Linked DNA regions of Homo sapiens: region 2 is linked to region 1. Evidence: promoter capture Hi-C in 16 types of primary human blood cells and fetal thymus (Javierre and others, 2016). All regions are on one chromosome and are shown on one strand. The core of a region is centred on a gene start or on the middle of the fragment in contact, and the rest is flanking DNA. Distances in the headings are between cores, read along the strand shown.

What was found. The method cuts DNA at HindIII sites, captures the fragments that hold promoters and counts their contacts. A CHiCAGO score of 5 or more calls a contact.
Region 2: a fragment that was not itself captured here is called in contact with the fragment with the promoter of ACAA1 in region 1 in 5 of 17 cell types (naive CD8 T cells, total CD8 T cells, fetal thymus and 2 more); the score reaches 7.3 in naive CD8 T cells.

The regions. Positions count from the first base shown.
Region 1 is chr3:38,132,697-38,140,323 of GRCh38, reverse strand. ACAA1 (acetyl-CoA acyltransferase 1) reads left to right here and starts at 3,197. Exons shown (of 12, transcript NM_001607.4): 1 at 3,197-3,459; 2 at 3,639-3,732; 3 at 6,315-6,372. The coding sequence starts at 3,289. It overlaps MYD88 (MYD88 innate immune signal transduction adaptor), which reads right to left and starts at 1,663. Exons shown (of 5, transcript NM_002468.5): 1 at 1,296-1,663; 2 at 326-460. The coding sequence starts at 1,623. RefSeq lists enhancers at 940-1,069, 1,570-1,979, 1,139-2,082. The HindIII fragment of the contact is 10,893 bases long and covers 1-7,627 here.
Region 2 is chr3:38,516,312-38,523,771 of GRCh38, reverse strand. All of the region lies in intron 5 of EXOG (exo/endonuclease G), which reads right to left. Among named protein-coding and RNA genes, the nearest start is that of EXOG, 24 kb to the right of the region's middle. The HindIII fragment of the contact is 592 bases long and covers 4,186-4,777 here.

The sequences.
Region 1 (7,627 bases), core at 1,948-4,447:
AGAGTCCCCTGCCTAGGCAACCCTGGGCCCTGCACCCTTCCCAAGATGATACTCCTCAGAGAAAGTGCCCTTTCCAGGAGAGGAAAGATGAGTACCTCAGGGGCTAAGCTCTGGATTAACCACGAGACAGACATTATTTCATGAGCATCTCACAGCAATCCAGAGGTAGGACTATTATCTCCATTTCTTAGGTGAGGAAACTGAGGCTCAGAAAGATTAAGTGACTTGCCCAAGGTCTCACAGCCCATCTGCTTCAAACACCCATGCTCTTAACACCACAATGTCCTATTCCACCTGTCCCATGGGAACAGTATTGGACCCTTACCCAGGGGGTCATCAAGTGTGGTGATGCCCGCCAGCTCTGCTGTCCGTGGGACACTGCTGTCTACAGCGGCCACCTGTAAAGGCTTCTCAGCCTCCTCCTGCTGCTGCTTCAAGATATACTTTTGGCAATCCTCCTCTGTGGGGAAGAGACAGAGTAAAGCAGCCTCCCTGGGAGTGCCTACCTCTTTACCCACAGTCAGGATCCAGCCGCTGTCCCACCTCCTCTGGCTGGGTTGTTCTAGAGGGCTTCCCCAGTTCACTGGTGCCACGCGAAGCTCAACGGCTCTGAGAAGTTGAGCTCCCACTGGCTCTAACTGACCCAAAGGGATGTCAGTGGTGTTCTGGCTTTCTGGAAGGCCATCAAAGTCAGGTTTGTATCTCTGTCCCTTCCTAGGGATCCTAAGAATGGTACCAAGGTAGGTCTGCTTCTTCTGGGATCCAGGGCAGATGTGAGCAAGGGGCTGGGCATGCCAGAAAGGCTCAGGAGACCCACTGGTTATGGTGCAGTGATTCCAACTCAGCAAGGTGTGCCTGTCTGTGGGCGGCTGTATCCAACGCCTATGCATGTATATTATGTAAGTGCCAGTGAGTAGAAAGAAGGGCTGCATTTCCCCAGGACTTGAGGTTTCTAAGACAGTCCACTGTCAATCGCCCCACCTGTCCTGTTGCTCTACTTGAAACAGCCCAGATGCCCCCACAGAAGCCTGATTCTGACTCCTGGCCCTACCTGAAAGCCTCTGCCTAAGCTGCTTCCTTCCCATCTCCGCCTATCCGGACCTTTCTCCAGTCCTTCTTAATAACCGCGACCGGTTATTAAGAAGGAACGGGACCCGCATGGTTCTCCCTCTGCAGGCTTCTTCGGGCCCCCGAGGCAGGAAATGGGGTCTCTCCATGGGAGACAGGATGCTGAGGCCGCGGAAAGTCAGCCTCCTCACCCCCCAGGTACGAGGCCAGGAAGGGGACGTCCTCACCAATGCTGGGTCCCAGCTCCAGCAGCACGTCGTCGCGGCCCAGCTTGGTAAGCAGCTCGAGCAGTCGGCCTACAGAGGCGCCAGGGCGTCCCTGCCAGGCGTCCAGCAGCCTGCCAGTGGGGTCCGCTTGTGTCTCCAGTTGCCGGATCTCCAAGTACTCAAAGTCCATCTCCTCCGCCAGCGCGGTCCAGTCGGCCGCCACCTGTGTCCGCACGTTCAAGAACAGAGACAGGCGGCGCCGCACTCGCATGTTGAGAGCAGCCAGGGGAAGGGAGGATGTGGAGGAGACCGGGGCCGCAGACCCCGCGCCGGGACCTCCTGCAGCCATGGCGGGCGGTCCTGGAGCCTCAGCGCGGTCGGGTCGCATTGTCTGCCAGCGCTTCCTCTTTCTCCTGCGGCACCCGCCCCGCCCCGCCGGCTTTCGCTTTCCGAGAAGCGCCGCCCTGCCCTACAATCTGGAGCCCCGAGCAAAAGTGCGGAGGCGGGGGTGCCCACCTCTACCCTTGAGGTCTCGAGGCGGGTGATGTGGGGGGCGTAAGAAGTAGGAATCTGCCTTTTGAGATCTGGAGAGGTCCACGGCACCGCCCTCGAGGGTCTGGTGATGGTGCTAGTAGGTTGGCGGCGGAGTGAGGACGACCCTCCTTCGGGGGTTGTAGGAAACGGGCCTTGCTTTTTGGGATCTGGTGGAGCCACAGTTCTTCCACGGAGGAATCTGAGGGGTTCATACGGTCCTGCCCTCGAGGATGGCGAGGAGGGGACAAGTGGGAAGGCACCAGCTCTGCCCTCCACTGTCTCTGGGGAACACGCAATCCTGCCAGTAGGGGTATGGGAAGACCCCTGCTGTGCTCCCCGAGGTGGGAGTGGGAAACGGACAGCTGCCTTCTGGAGCCTGAGGCATGCCGTGGCCCTGCCCTCGAAATGGTTGGGGACGTCATGACACTAGGTTGGGGAGCACAAGGCACCCTGTCCTTTGGTGTCTGTGGAAAGCCCAGCACTACTCTCCAGGGTCTCAGGTGAAGACATGGCCCTGCTATTGGGAGTCAAGGGGGCACGTGGCCTTGCCCTTTAGGTTTAGGGACACAGTCCTGACCTGGGGAGCCCTGGTTCATTCATTTACTCATTCGACAAGTACTTATTGATCATCTACTAAGTGTCAAGGGTGTCGCAGGCTCCCCGGATACATGGTACCTCTCTGCCTTGGTGGAGACCCCAGCCTAGCACGGGAAATGGGCACTAATAAAATCATTCCAATTGGGTGTAAAACTGGTAAAAGTGTGAAATGTTCATTCTCCAGTTAGAGAGCTTGTCACACCCCGCATGTCTGTAAAATCTGTTCTCCCGGCCAGCCCGGAAGCCCAAATTCCCTGTCTTCTCGAAAGAATGGGAAAGCCCAACCACGTCGGAGCAGGACTCGGGCGTCTCGGAAGTATTTAGGTCCCCCAGCTCGGGTACTGGGACCGGAGGGATAGCAGAGCCTCCTAGGAAGTGGGTAGAGGAATTAGAGCCTCGGCTTCCATCTCCAGCCCCCAAGCAGTAAGCGGTCCTGGCTGCCCAGCCTTCCGTTTGGCTGCGGGCAGGAGACAGGGATTTGGGGGTCAGGTCTCGGGTTTGGCTACAAAAGGTGGAAAGACTTCCGGTCTGCATTTCTGGGCGGGGATTCGTAAAGATACACCTTCTGGTTGGCTGCGGTAGGCCAAGGTAGGCGGGGCATTGAGTGGAAAGCTCGGCTGGGCGGTGCCTGTGGGCCCTCCTATAGAGGGCTTGGTAGGCGGTGGCGGGGAGGGGCGGGTTCCCAGGCCGACTCTCCTTGTGGTTGGCTGAGGCTGGAGGTGGACGGGACTTTTGGAGGGTCGCTCGCGTCTGTTCGCAGAGCTGTGGGCGGAGTTGAGGCCTTGGAGGCTGAGATGTGGTTCTGCGCGTGTGCGGACGGCTGTCTGTTAACTCCGCGGTCAGTTCCCGGACTGGTGGCTGGTCTGCAGGGTTGACCTGCGCAATGCAGAGGCTGCAGGTAGTGCTGGGCCACCTGAGGGGTCCGGCCGATTCCGGCTGGATGCCGCAGGCCGCGCCTTGCCTGAGCGGTGCCCCGCAGGCCTCGGCCGCGGACGTGGTGGTGGTGCACGGGCGGCGCACGGCCATCTGCCGGGCGGGCCGCGGCGGCTTCAAGGTGAGGCCCGAGGGTCTGGGCGCCGAGTGTGGGAAGACGCCGGCGCGGGCTGGGGTCCGGTTCGTATGTTTGGTTATCCTGGACGCCGGAGGCAGCTCCGCACCCAGCTGTGGTCGCTTTGTCTCCCTGGGGTGGGCATGGGGGAGTGGGGGTCACTGCGGCTGCTCTTTCTGCTGCAGGACACCACCCCCGACGAGCTTCTCTCGGCAGTCATGACCGCGGTTCTCAAGGACGTGAATCTGAGGCCGGAACAGCTGGGGGACATCTGTGTCGGTGAGCGAACCACTCAGGCCCTGCGCTGGGCCTTCCCCGTTCTTCCGTTCGTCCAGAGCTCTCCTCACCTCCCCGCCCCGAATTTTCACTGGGGGAACCTCCATGGCCTTGACCTTTGAAGGGGTCCTGCCCCTTCACACCTGTGGGTATTTCTCGTCAGATGGGAGGAGAGACTGAGAAAAGAAATAAGACGCAGAGACAAAGTGTAGAGTGGGCCCAGGTGACCGGCATCGGTCTCCGAGTTCCCTCAGTATTTATTGATTACTATTTTCACTATCTCGGCAAGGGGAGTGCGGCAGTGTGGGGGAAAGGAAGAGAGATCAGACTGTTACTGTGTCTGTGTAGAAAAGGAAGACAGAAGAAACTCCATTTTGATCTGTACTAAGAAAAATTTTTCTGCCTTGAGATGCTGTTAATCTGTAGCCTTAGCCCCAACCCTGTGCTCACAGAAACATGTGCTGTATTGAATCAAGGTTTGAGGGATTTAGGGCTGTGCAGGATGTGGCTTGTTAACCATTTGTTTGCAGGCAGTATGCTTGGTAAAAGTCATCGCCATTCTCCATTCTCGATTAACCAGGTACACAGTGCACTGCGAAAGGCCGCAGGGACCTCTGCCCAAGAAAGCCTGGGTATTGTCCAGGTTTCCCCCCACTGAGATTGTCTGAGATATGGCCTAGTGGGAAGGGAAAGACCTTACAGTCCCCCAGCCCGACACCCGTAAAGGGTCTGTGCTGAGGAGTATTAGTAAAAGAGGAAGGCCTCTTTGCAGACACCCGTAAAGGGTCGGTGCTGAGGAGTATTAGTAAAAGAGGAAGGCCTCTTTGCAGTTGAGATAAGAGGAAAGCATCTGTCTCCTGCTTGTCCCTGGGAATGGAATGTCTTGGGTGTAAAACCCAACCATACATTCTATTTACTGAGATAGGAGAAAACCGCCTTATGGCTGCAGGTGAGACATGCTGGCGGCAATACTGCTCTTTACTGCACTGAGATGTTTGTGTAAAGTCAAACATAAATCTGGCCTATGTGCACATCCAGGCACAGCACCTTTCCTTAAACTTACTTATGACACTGAGTCCTTTGCTCACATTTTTTCCTGTTGACCCCCTCCCCACCATTACCTTATAGTAATGGTATATAATGCCACATCCCTCTTGCCAAGATAGTAGAGATAGTGATCAATAAATACTGAGGGAACTCAGAGACCAGTGCTGGTGTAGGTCCTCAATTGCTGAGCACCAGTCCCCTGGGCCCACTTTTCTTCCTCTATACTTTGTCTCTGTGTCATTTCTTTTCTCAGTTTCTCGTCTCCACCTTGCGAGAAATACCCACAGGTGTGGAGGGGCAGGCCCTCTTCAGGCAAAACGGGGTGAACAGGGTGATGGTGGGGAGAAGGTCAGCAGGAAAACATGTGAGTAAAGGAATCTGCATCATAAATAAGTTCAAGGGAAGGTACTGTGCTGAGATGTGCATGTAGGCTAGATTTTTGTTTCTCTTTACCCAGACATCTCAGTGTAGCAAAGAGTAACAGAGCAGTATTGCTGCCAGCATATTTCGCTTCCAGCCACAGGGCGGTTTTCTCCTATCTCAGTAAATAGAACCAATAGTCGGCTTTACACCGAGACATTCCGTTCCCAGGGATGTGCGGGAAATAGAGGCCTTCCTCTTTTACTAATCCTCCTCAGCACAGACCCTTTACAGGTGTCGGGCTGGGGGACAGTAAGGTCTTTCCCTTCCCACGAGGCCATATCTCAGGCTGTCTCAGTGGGGGGAAACCTTGGACAAATACCCAGGCTTTCTTGGGCAGAGGTCCCTGCGGCTTTCCACAGTGCATCATGTCCCTGGTTAATAGAGAATGGAGAATGACGATGACTTTTACCAAGCATACTGTCTGCAAACATATGTTGACAAGGCACATCCTGCACAGCCCTAAATCCCTTAAACCTTGATTCAATATAGCACATGTTTTTGTGAGCACAGAGTTGGGGCTAAAGTTACAGATTAACAGCATCTCAAAGCAGAAACAATTTTTCTTTGTACAGATCAACATGGAGTTTCTTATGTCTTCCTTTTCTACATACACACGGTAACAATCTGATCTTTCTTTTCCCCACAATCTTCAGTCCAGCCCTCTATTCCACCCCTCACCTTGAAATACAGCAATATGATATGGCAAGAGTCTTATCCAGCGGATGCCACCCCTAGGTCGGCAATCACTGTTCCACCTCTCTGGGGTGACAGCAGGGCTCACAGGAGGATACCTGGGGAGATGTGCATTTTCAGAAACTCCCATTTCACTTTTAAGGGCAGACAACCTGCCCATCTGTGCTGATTTGGAAAAGCTGGGTGCATGGGCAAGTGAGCGTGGGACCCTCAGGGACAGGAGCTGGTGGATGACCAGGACAAGCTGTTGTATGGCTGGCTCTCCCTGCCCCAAACCCTGATGTTCCAGAGTTGCAAGTGAGCCTGCCAAGGGCTAGTGTCCCGAAGAAAGATCTGGAATGCCTCATCTCTGGTTTTCACAGCTATACTTTAGTGCCCAGAACACCACCGCCTGGCACTGAATGAAAGTTTGTTGTCCACAGGAAATGTGCTGCAGCCTGGGGCCGGGGCAATCATGGCCCGAATCGCCCAGTTTCTGAGGTAAACTTTTCTAGTTCTAGCCATGGGTTGGCCATTTTGACACTTTACTGGGCCCAGGCCCCAGGAAACTCAGTGTGCAGGTTGGGGAGGATAAGGTTGGACACCAGAATGAGGCAACGAGAGTCCTTGGCTCCCTGCTCTTGTGGACTCAACCTCTCCCCTACTTTGAAGTGCTGAGCCACGATACACAAAACCTTTGGGACTGGAGCAGAAGTTCTCTGTAGCTTGATTTTTAGCCAAAGCCAGGTTGTCATTTGCCTTTTGTGAGTGTGGACTCTGTCCTCATTTGTCAGGTGAGTAATCAAGTAAGAATGCTGAAAAGTGACTTTCAGCCTTTTTACTAGTTGAGCTGAGAACTCCAGTCATATCCCACTAGCAGAGACTTTGGGATAGGGCAGAACCATGGGGAAGGAGGACCCTCAGGAGGAGACCTGGTCAACTTTCCTTTAAGCGCCTGCAGGGTAAAGAGTGCTTAAATTATTTTCATGTGTAGATTTAAGAACTGCTTGGCTTTGTACTTCTAGATGCATAAATAAATAAATAGGAACATTAGCTAGTGAAGGAACAGGAAAACAACCCTCTAGGAACTGGGAGAGGTTTAGACTGCCCAGCCTGTAGTTCAAGGCCCCCTACAATCTGGCTCCAGACTTACCTTCCAGCCTCATCTCCTAGCTGCTTACTCACCTTGACTTTTCTTCGTTCAGCCGGCTGTGGGCCTACTGTCTTCCCTGATATGGTCATTCTGTCTCCTTGAAGTGCTAGCCCTACCTCCTCTTTCTGCCCTAGACAGAAAGACAAACCCTGCCTAAACACAGTCTCACCATTTTGGCATGAGTTATCCAGGCTCTCAGGCTGAAATTGAGAGCCCCTTCCTCTCCAGCAGTAGCCATATACTTCCTTGTGATGTGGTTTGCCCTCTTGCCCTATTATTTCAGTCTCTGATAGTTGATTCATTTTCTGTGTGTTGGTTGGGCATCCTCTAGGGCACAGTGTTATAAGCATCGCAGCATCCCTCAGGTGATGCCTTGTGGTAAGTAGGTATTTAGTGAACACTTGGTGGATTGAGTGAAGGAATGGTAACTACCTGCTAGGGAGTTAAGGGACCCTGGAAGGGTCAAACAGGCTGCACAGGAGGCTATCCCCCTGAGAGAGTCTCTGCAGAGCCTGGCCTGGGCACTAGTTCAGAGGTTCCCAACTCTGGCTACACACCAGAATCACCAGGATGCTTCCACTCCCTCAGATTCTGAGTCTGTGG
Region 2 (7,460 bases), core at 3,232-5,731, 380 kb before region 1:
TAAATTCAACTGCCAAAAATAATAAACTGACTCAGAGATTCACATACAAGAAGAGTATTTAACAGGTCAATTCTGATCACATTCTTTAAAATAATATAACCCCAGGTGAGGCACGGTGGCTCATACCTGTAATCCCAGCACTTTGGGACGCCAAGGCGGGCAGATCACTTGAGGTCAGGAGTTCAAGACCAGCCTGGCCAACATGGTGAAACCCCATCTCTACTAAAAAAAAATACAAAAATTAGCTGGGTGTGGTGGCAGGCGCCTGTAATCCCAGCTACTTGGGAGGCTGAAGCAGAAGAATTGCTTGAACCCAGGAGGCAGAGGGTGCAGTGAGCCGAGATTGCACCACTGCACTCCAGCCTGGCCGACAGAGCAAGACTCCACCTCAAAAAATAAAAATAAAATAATGCCAACCCAAAGATCAGGGGTCACAGTCTCTGTTCTGTTTGTAGGACAAAGGACAAAGGAATGCCATGAGTGAGTCCTGGTTTTTTAATAGACAAGAAAAGCTGTCATTTTCTCTTCATCTCATAATCAGAACTTCTGGTGCTCCAAACATTCAAAGGTCAAAACTGCAGGCTTGGGTACTCCCAGCTCTAGAAATAAAAACATGGCCTTAGTTTATGAAATTCACTAGGGAACTAAACAGATAGCCCTTAGAGAAGCAGCCAGGTGTCAAGTCAACATTACCATCTCCAGGATCACTTCAATTAGGGCTAATTTTTAAAATTAAATTACATAAATGTAAATGCTGTTTGCTCTGAGTTTTGCACATCCTTGGGCTTGTGATCAAAGAACTTCTAAATATGTTGTCATATCAAACATTTTGGAAAGGTATCCACACAATGAAGAAGCCAGAGCCAGGGTCAGGCCTAGAAAACATAAATTAGTTGTGTGGTTTGGCTGAAATTAATGAAATAACATTATTACTAAACCTTTTCAAATTTCCTTCCAATTGGCATCTGGGCCAGGTGTGGTGGCTCATGCCTGTAATCCCAGCACTTTGGGAGGCCAAGGCAGGCAGATCTCCTGAGGTTGGGAGTTTGAGACCAGCCTGACCAACATGGAGAAACCCCATCTCTACTAAAAATACAAAATTAGCTGGGCGTGGTGGCGCATGCCTGTAATCCCTGCTACTCGGGAGGCTGAGGCAAAAGAATCACTTGAACCCGGGAGGTGGAGGTTGCAGTTAGCCGAGATTGTGACACTACACTCCAGCCTGGGCAACAAGAGCGAAACTCCATCTCAAAACAAAACAAAACAAAACAAAAAGGCTTTTTTGAAAAAGAAAATACTCAACATCTATTTACTTAATGGTCCCCAATAACTGACATAATCCAACTAAAACATGCTCATTGGTATTACTGCCCCTCCCGGGCCCTTCCCTGGTAAGAGTCAGTTTTCTTTCCTGATCAGACAGCTCTGCCTGCAGCAAGATTCCTTCTTGTGAGCCCAAATAAGACAGAGACACGACAGCTACAAAGGAGGTTTCTTTTCTGCTTTTTTCAAGCTCCTACCTACATGGCACACAGCCTGGGAACTCCATGGCCATCTGCTGTCTGTCACACATGAAGGTCCCACTGCCAAGACCAATTGCAGAGCTTCAGGGAAGACCCGTGCACGGGAATGATTTCCATAACCAACTGTCTTCGAAGTTACTGAAAGTGGTTGGTCGGGGTGTGGTGTAAAGTCTATGAAACTATGTACTACAAACATAAAATCCCCATTTCACCCCAAAAATTCATTTATGCAGCTGGGAAGATAAACATACTCTTCAAAGCCAAAAATATACTGAGGGAGAACCCTATGGAAGTCCACAATTAACTCACAAATAACCAAAAGATGTTAATTCAACAATGCAACTCAGAGGTCCTGTGCCTGGCATTGCTGGAAATACAGAAAAGAATATGCTTTAAAGTATATGCAGCTGGTGCCTCCACTCAAGAAACTTACCACCTAGAGTGGGAACCAAGACCTTCAGCTTTCACTACAGGTAGAATGTGGTTAGGTACCAATACAAAGCCCAAATAACAGCACGAAGGGGATTCAGGGGAAGCTGGGGACCAGAACTGAGGGCACAGATGCAGCTGAGCCATAGTTTGCAAAGAGGGAGAAGGTGAAAGGGGCTTCAAGTATTCCAGGTGCTAGCTAGGAATCCAGCAGTTAAACAAAGTCTTTGCGCCACCTTGTGGACATTCCCCATCACTGCAGTACAGTTCAAGAACATTCACTTGATTTTCTCTCCTCATGGACTCCTTGTCTACAAACAAACGGCAATTTTCAAATATAATTAACATGCCCATTGCTGCCATGCAGAGCTAATCAGGCTCGTAAAATTCCAGCCAAAAGTAAAGACGTTGGACATTTTCAGTTCTACAGCTTTACTTTATGCAAATGTACCATTTCTATAGGTGTTTAAAAACTCTTACAATTGCTAAAGGACCTCGATTCTACTTTTGAGAAACCTCATGGAAACAGAAATTCCTATTAGGAATCACAGGTGTGATCCTTCTACCCATGACCTTCTCACACTATTTCAAGGGGGTAAAATACTATCCCTAGAACTAAGGAGAAAAATAAAAACTTAGCCACTCACTAATCTCTTTTCTGATTCAGTCTGCTTTGTTCTTAGGAAGCAAACATCTTTAATCTGTCTAATATAGGGACAGGTCCTAGTTGGGTATTCAGAAAAACACACCGTTTCTTCCTTGAATTTAAGACAATTTTTTAAAACAACATCAATCGTAAAATATTTTAGAGCTGTCTCTTTAAAGACAACTCAATCTACATAATAAATTTTTCCTACTTTTGGAAAAATTGGGAGACTTCCAGAAATGTTTCTAAACACTACTAGAGGTTTGGTGGACTGGAAGCCCAGAGACCTGGTCAAACCTGGCTTTGCCACTAAGCTGCAAGTCGCGTCCACCCATTTCTTGTTTCTTCATTTACAAAATACGTAACAGCCATCCCCGTGGGTGGATTGCTATTTTGTATTTTATAAATGCCTCTCTCATAGAATTGTTATGAAGATACAATGACATGTTAGTTAAAAATTTTTCAAAATCTACAAGATCTATGTAAAAAGCTATTTTGTAGTGGACATCATTCAAAAGATACAACGGCATTTGGTACAAAAGATGGTTTTACAGAGGGATGGGGGCGGGGGAAACGTATAATCAAGCAAGATTAGACTAGTTACAGGTCAGCAATGGGGTTTCAGGAGGAGAAAGCAACTTGGGCACAAATGATGTCTGTAACAAAGGACTCAAAGGCTTAACATAAACCAAGTCTAGTTAATCAGTGAGTCAGCAAACAACCCTTTTCATGTAAGATTTAGGTATAAAAATATTTTGCAAAGGAAACCCTTGCTGCTATTAAATTCCCAAGAAGCACTGAACTCTACTCAAGACTGTAGCAAAAATTGGAAGTCAACTGGGAGTTAACTAGAAAATACAATACATAAGCTGGCACTCATTCGCAACCTGAAGCTAGTTTTCTTATATACTGGCCTGAGCTTGTTTCCTTCCATCCAAGAGACAGAAATGACAATTTGCCACCACCACCTGTGCCACCCAGACCCAGAAGAGACCCAAAACAAACAATACCCATATTAAGCCTGCCATTTGTAAGGTCATACATACTGTAAATGTGCCTCCAATAAAATATTAAGCAGCATCAAGAGGAAAAAATATGTACCTGCTAGAATTAGATAGATATATTTGGTTACATTCCCCTGGTAAGACAAAAAAAGAAACTCCAAAAATAAAACTAGAGGGACAGATCAAGAGACCACGCCCTTAAAAAGTCATGCCGATCAAGTGAAAGAAAGAAACCATGGGAGTTTGATAAACAGGAAATCCGAACCTGAGGGGGGGAAGGAACATGAAAAGTGAGGGAGTCACAAAGTGTGGTAAAGTCAACAAGAATGTGGTCGCCCCCTGTGTTATCTATAGAGCCTCAGCAGATGCTTTTGTGGCAGCACAAACCCTGGAAGACGGTACTTCTCACACTGGGGTACCTGTTCCAGGCCAAAGGGTAGCAGCCTACTAAGTCACAGTAAAACAAGCACCCTCTTTCTAGGCTGTCAATGGTACTTGAAAATTTAGGGTGAGGGTAGGGAGACAACCAGTAAAATAATTTAACTTTCATTAAAACAAATAGATATGGAAATGAACAAAAGCTTTCCCTAAATATAAAGCAAGAGACTTAAAAAAAAATATTACTCCCATATCACTTCAAATGATGTCTCAAGACTCCTGAGGGCATTTTCAATTTCCTCCCCTTTAGGGTTAGTATAATGGAAGTTTGCAAAGTGCTGTTATAAAAGAACACAGATTGTTAAATATTTCTAACATTACCACCATCACTGAGTTCTAAAATCTGAAGCTCACTTTCTTGTCAGACCATTTATAATGTCCAAACCAGAATCTTCAGGTATGTTTCACTTGTCTGGAATCAACCTCTTCTTGAAACAGGAACATCAGAGAAAGCACAGGGATGACCTCAGCTATATAATAAAGGGGGTGATTCTGATTAGAACTGTCAGATGACTCACTTCTGATAAAATCACTGCTACGAATCTTCCCTTAGGCTCATATTCACTCAAGTTCTATGATGATGTGATCCTTTCCTACATATTCTAACAGACATTTCTGCCTGGCTATAAGGAATCCTCCTCTTGGCCCATTTTCTGTTATTTTTGCATGCTAGCAAGTATCACTTGTAACTCCTCTCTCCATCCACACCATCTTTTATTATCTGCTAACCTTAAGCTTTTGTATATGAACAGCACAGCAATTCATTTACTATAAACTTGAGCGCTTCAAAGAGTAACACTGTGAATGACTGGCAATTGTCAGACAGACCCATGTTTGGATACCCTCTTTGACAATTATAAGCTATATGCCTGAGACTTGATCCTTAAAGCCTTGATTTTCTTGTCTATAAAAGAAAATGGTCACTACTTTTTTTGTAAGGGTGTAGTGAAGATTGAATGAGATGCATATATAAAGCTACTTACATACTGCCTGGTATACCTGGCCCTCAAGAAATGCCAGTTCATTTGCTTTACTTCCCCCAAAGTAAAAACACATATATGCTTCATTGCCTGGACAGAAAACTAAATAAACCCTTTTATTGGGTACAACTTCCTAAAATAAGGTTCAGAGTATAGTTGTAAGCAAGCAGTAAATATTAAATGGCTAGATCTGAGAAAACAAAACACTTTCCAAGCACTCTGAATTGCCGTACGTAATTGCAAGACATTGCCTTGAAAGTGGGAATTCATGATTCAAATTATTCGTTGCTTGAGAGAAACAGACCAGTCTCCAGCACTGGGCAATGCTGTGTCCCCTTTCCCAGAATAATTAAAGGACATCATTTTATCTATATTTGTTTTATAATTAATTGCCTACTTTTCAAAGGCCCTGCTTGCTAGAAAATTATCTTGAAGTTCTTGCCTAAACTTTTTAGCTGGTCATTTGAAGTTTCTGCCACCAGGCCCCAAACTTTCCTTTTATTTTTGTCTCCTTCCCTACATGAACGCTCTAACTTAACTGTTTTCTCAGCATATATCCTATCGCTTCTCATCTCTTCACCTTGCCTAGGTAGACCTCCCACATCTCTATTTCTTAACCAAATTCTCCCAAGTTTATAGATACATGTGTGTGTGCATATATATAAAAATTTGGGCCCAATTAAATTCTTGGCAAGAATTTCAAGATAATTTTTCAAATTTATTTTACTAACAAACTATATTTTGCTTTCATCTAACAGATACACCAAAGATTTTTAGGTTTAAAATTCTACCTGAAATAAAGTTTGACTTGAAATATAATGCCAAAACTAATAAAAGCAGTATTATTATGGAGATATTTGTTAGTGAAAAACATAAATATATAAAAGTAGATGTCAGTTTGATATGCTTCTGAGAAAACTGAAAAACCATATGCTCCTCCAGAAATATGGATTCGTGAAGTCAATATTCAACTTTACATATACATACACAATGTACAAACACAGTGAACTGCTTTCCTAATGACCAGTGTCTGTCAATCCCTGTTTTGAAATACAAGAACACAGAAAGCAGAGGAGAAAGGCCTTCTCAACAGTGAGCCACTAAAGGCAATGGAATCCATATACTACGAGCTTTGGGGCTCTCTCCATCCACTACAAAAGGCTAAAAATAAATGTGGTGAACACACCTGACAAACCAAACAGCAGAGCAAGCACTCAAGAATCAATCTGAATTGCTGTCCAGATCTTGGTTTCTAAACATCAATCCCCACTAAAAGGATCCAGTGCTCCTTGGAGAAATGGCCGATGGCCAAGATGAACATGGAACATAGCCTTATACCAGAAAGTAGGAAATGCTAAAAAATGATGAGGATGCATCAAAAGGACACAGGAGACACTGGAAGGAGCTCCCACTGGCTAAATCTGGGGCAATTTGAGCATCAAAATGAACAATCACAGTAAACATTAAAACTCTTTGAATAAAAATAAATCTGTGAGTCTACATTGATAACAAGGAAAAGCTCTAACAGTGGAATGTCAACTAATAAATTAAGGAGTAAGAATTAGAAAGTCATCATTTAGCAACTAACATAGTAATAACTAATTCAGGCAGGAAATATCAATGGATGCTAAAACTATTGAGTGAAAGTTCGAAGACGAAAAAGATGCTTACATCGCCTCAAAGTATTTCCACAGATTACTTATAAATTCCAAAGGGGGAAATGGTGAAAAAACCTGGTAGACACCACCTTAACCAAGTAAAGTTAAAATCATCAATAATCAGACAAACTGATATTATGCACCTCCTGATGCAATGCACTGAGAAGGACACAAGATCACTGCTCCTACATTCTGCCAAAAACATAATGAATCATGAGCAAACAACAGACAAACCCAAAGGAGGGACATACTGTAAAACAACTGGCCCGTACTATTCAAAAATATCAAAGTCATTCAAGACAAAAGGCTGAGTCAGAAGCTAGTTCAGATTAAAGGAGACTACAGAGACATGACAACTAAATGCAATGCTCAATCCTGGTTGGATACTGAATCAGAAAAAAAAAACAGTATAAAGGATAGTATTGGGTAATTTGTAAAATTTCAATATGGACTAAATATTAGGTAGTATTTCTATATGTTTTTTCACGAATTTGATAATTATTCTGTGGTTACATGACAGAATGCTTAGGAGGAAAGGAACAAGATATCTGCAACTAACTCAAATGGTTCAGAAAACAAAAACAGGTGTATGCCTATCTATATGGGGGAGCATAAATGTGGCAAAATGTTAACAACCAGTAAATCTAGGTGAAAGATACAGGGAAGTTCTTTTTATTGTTCTTATAACCTTTCTATAAATTTGAAATTATTTCCAAATAAAACATTAAGAAATATTAACCTGCTAAAAGCAAAGACAAAAACAAATTAACCTGCTTTGCAAA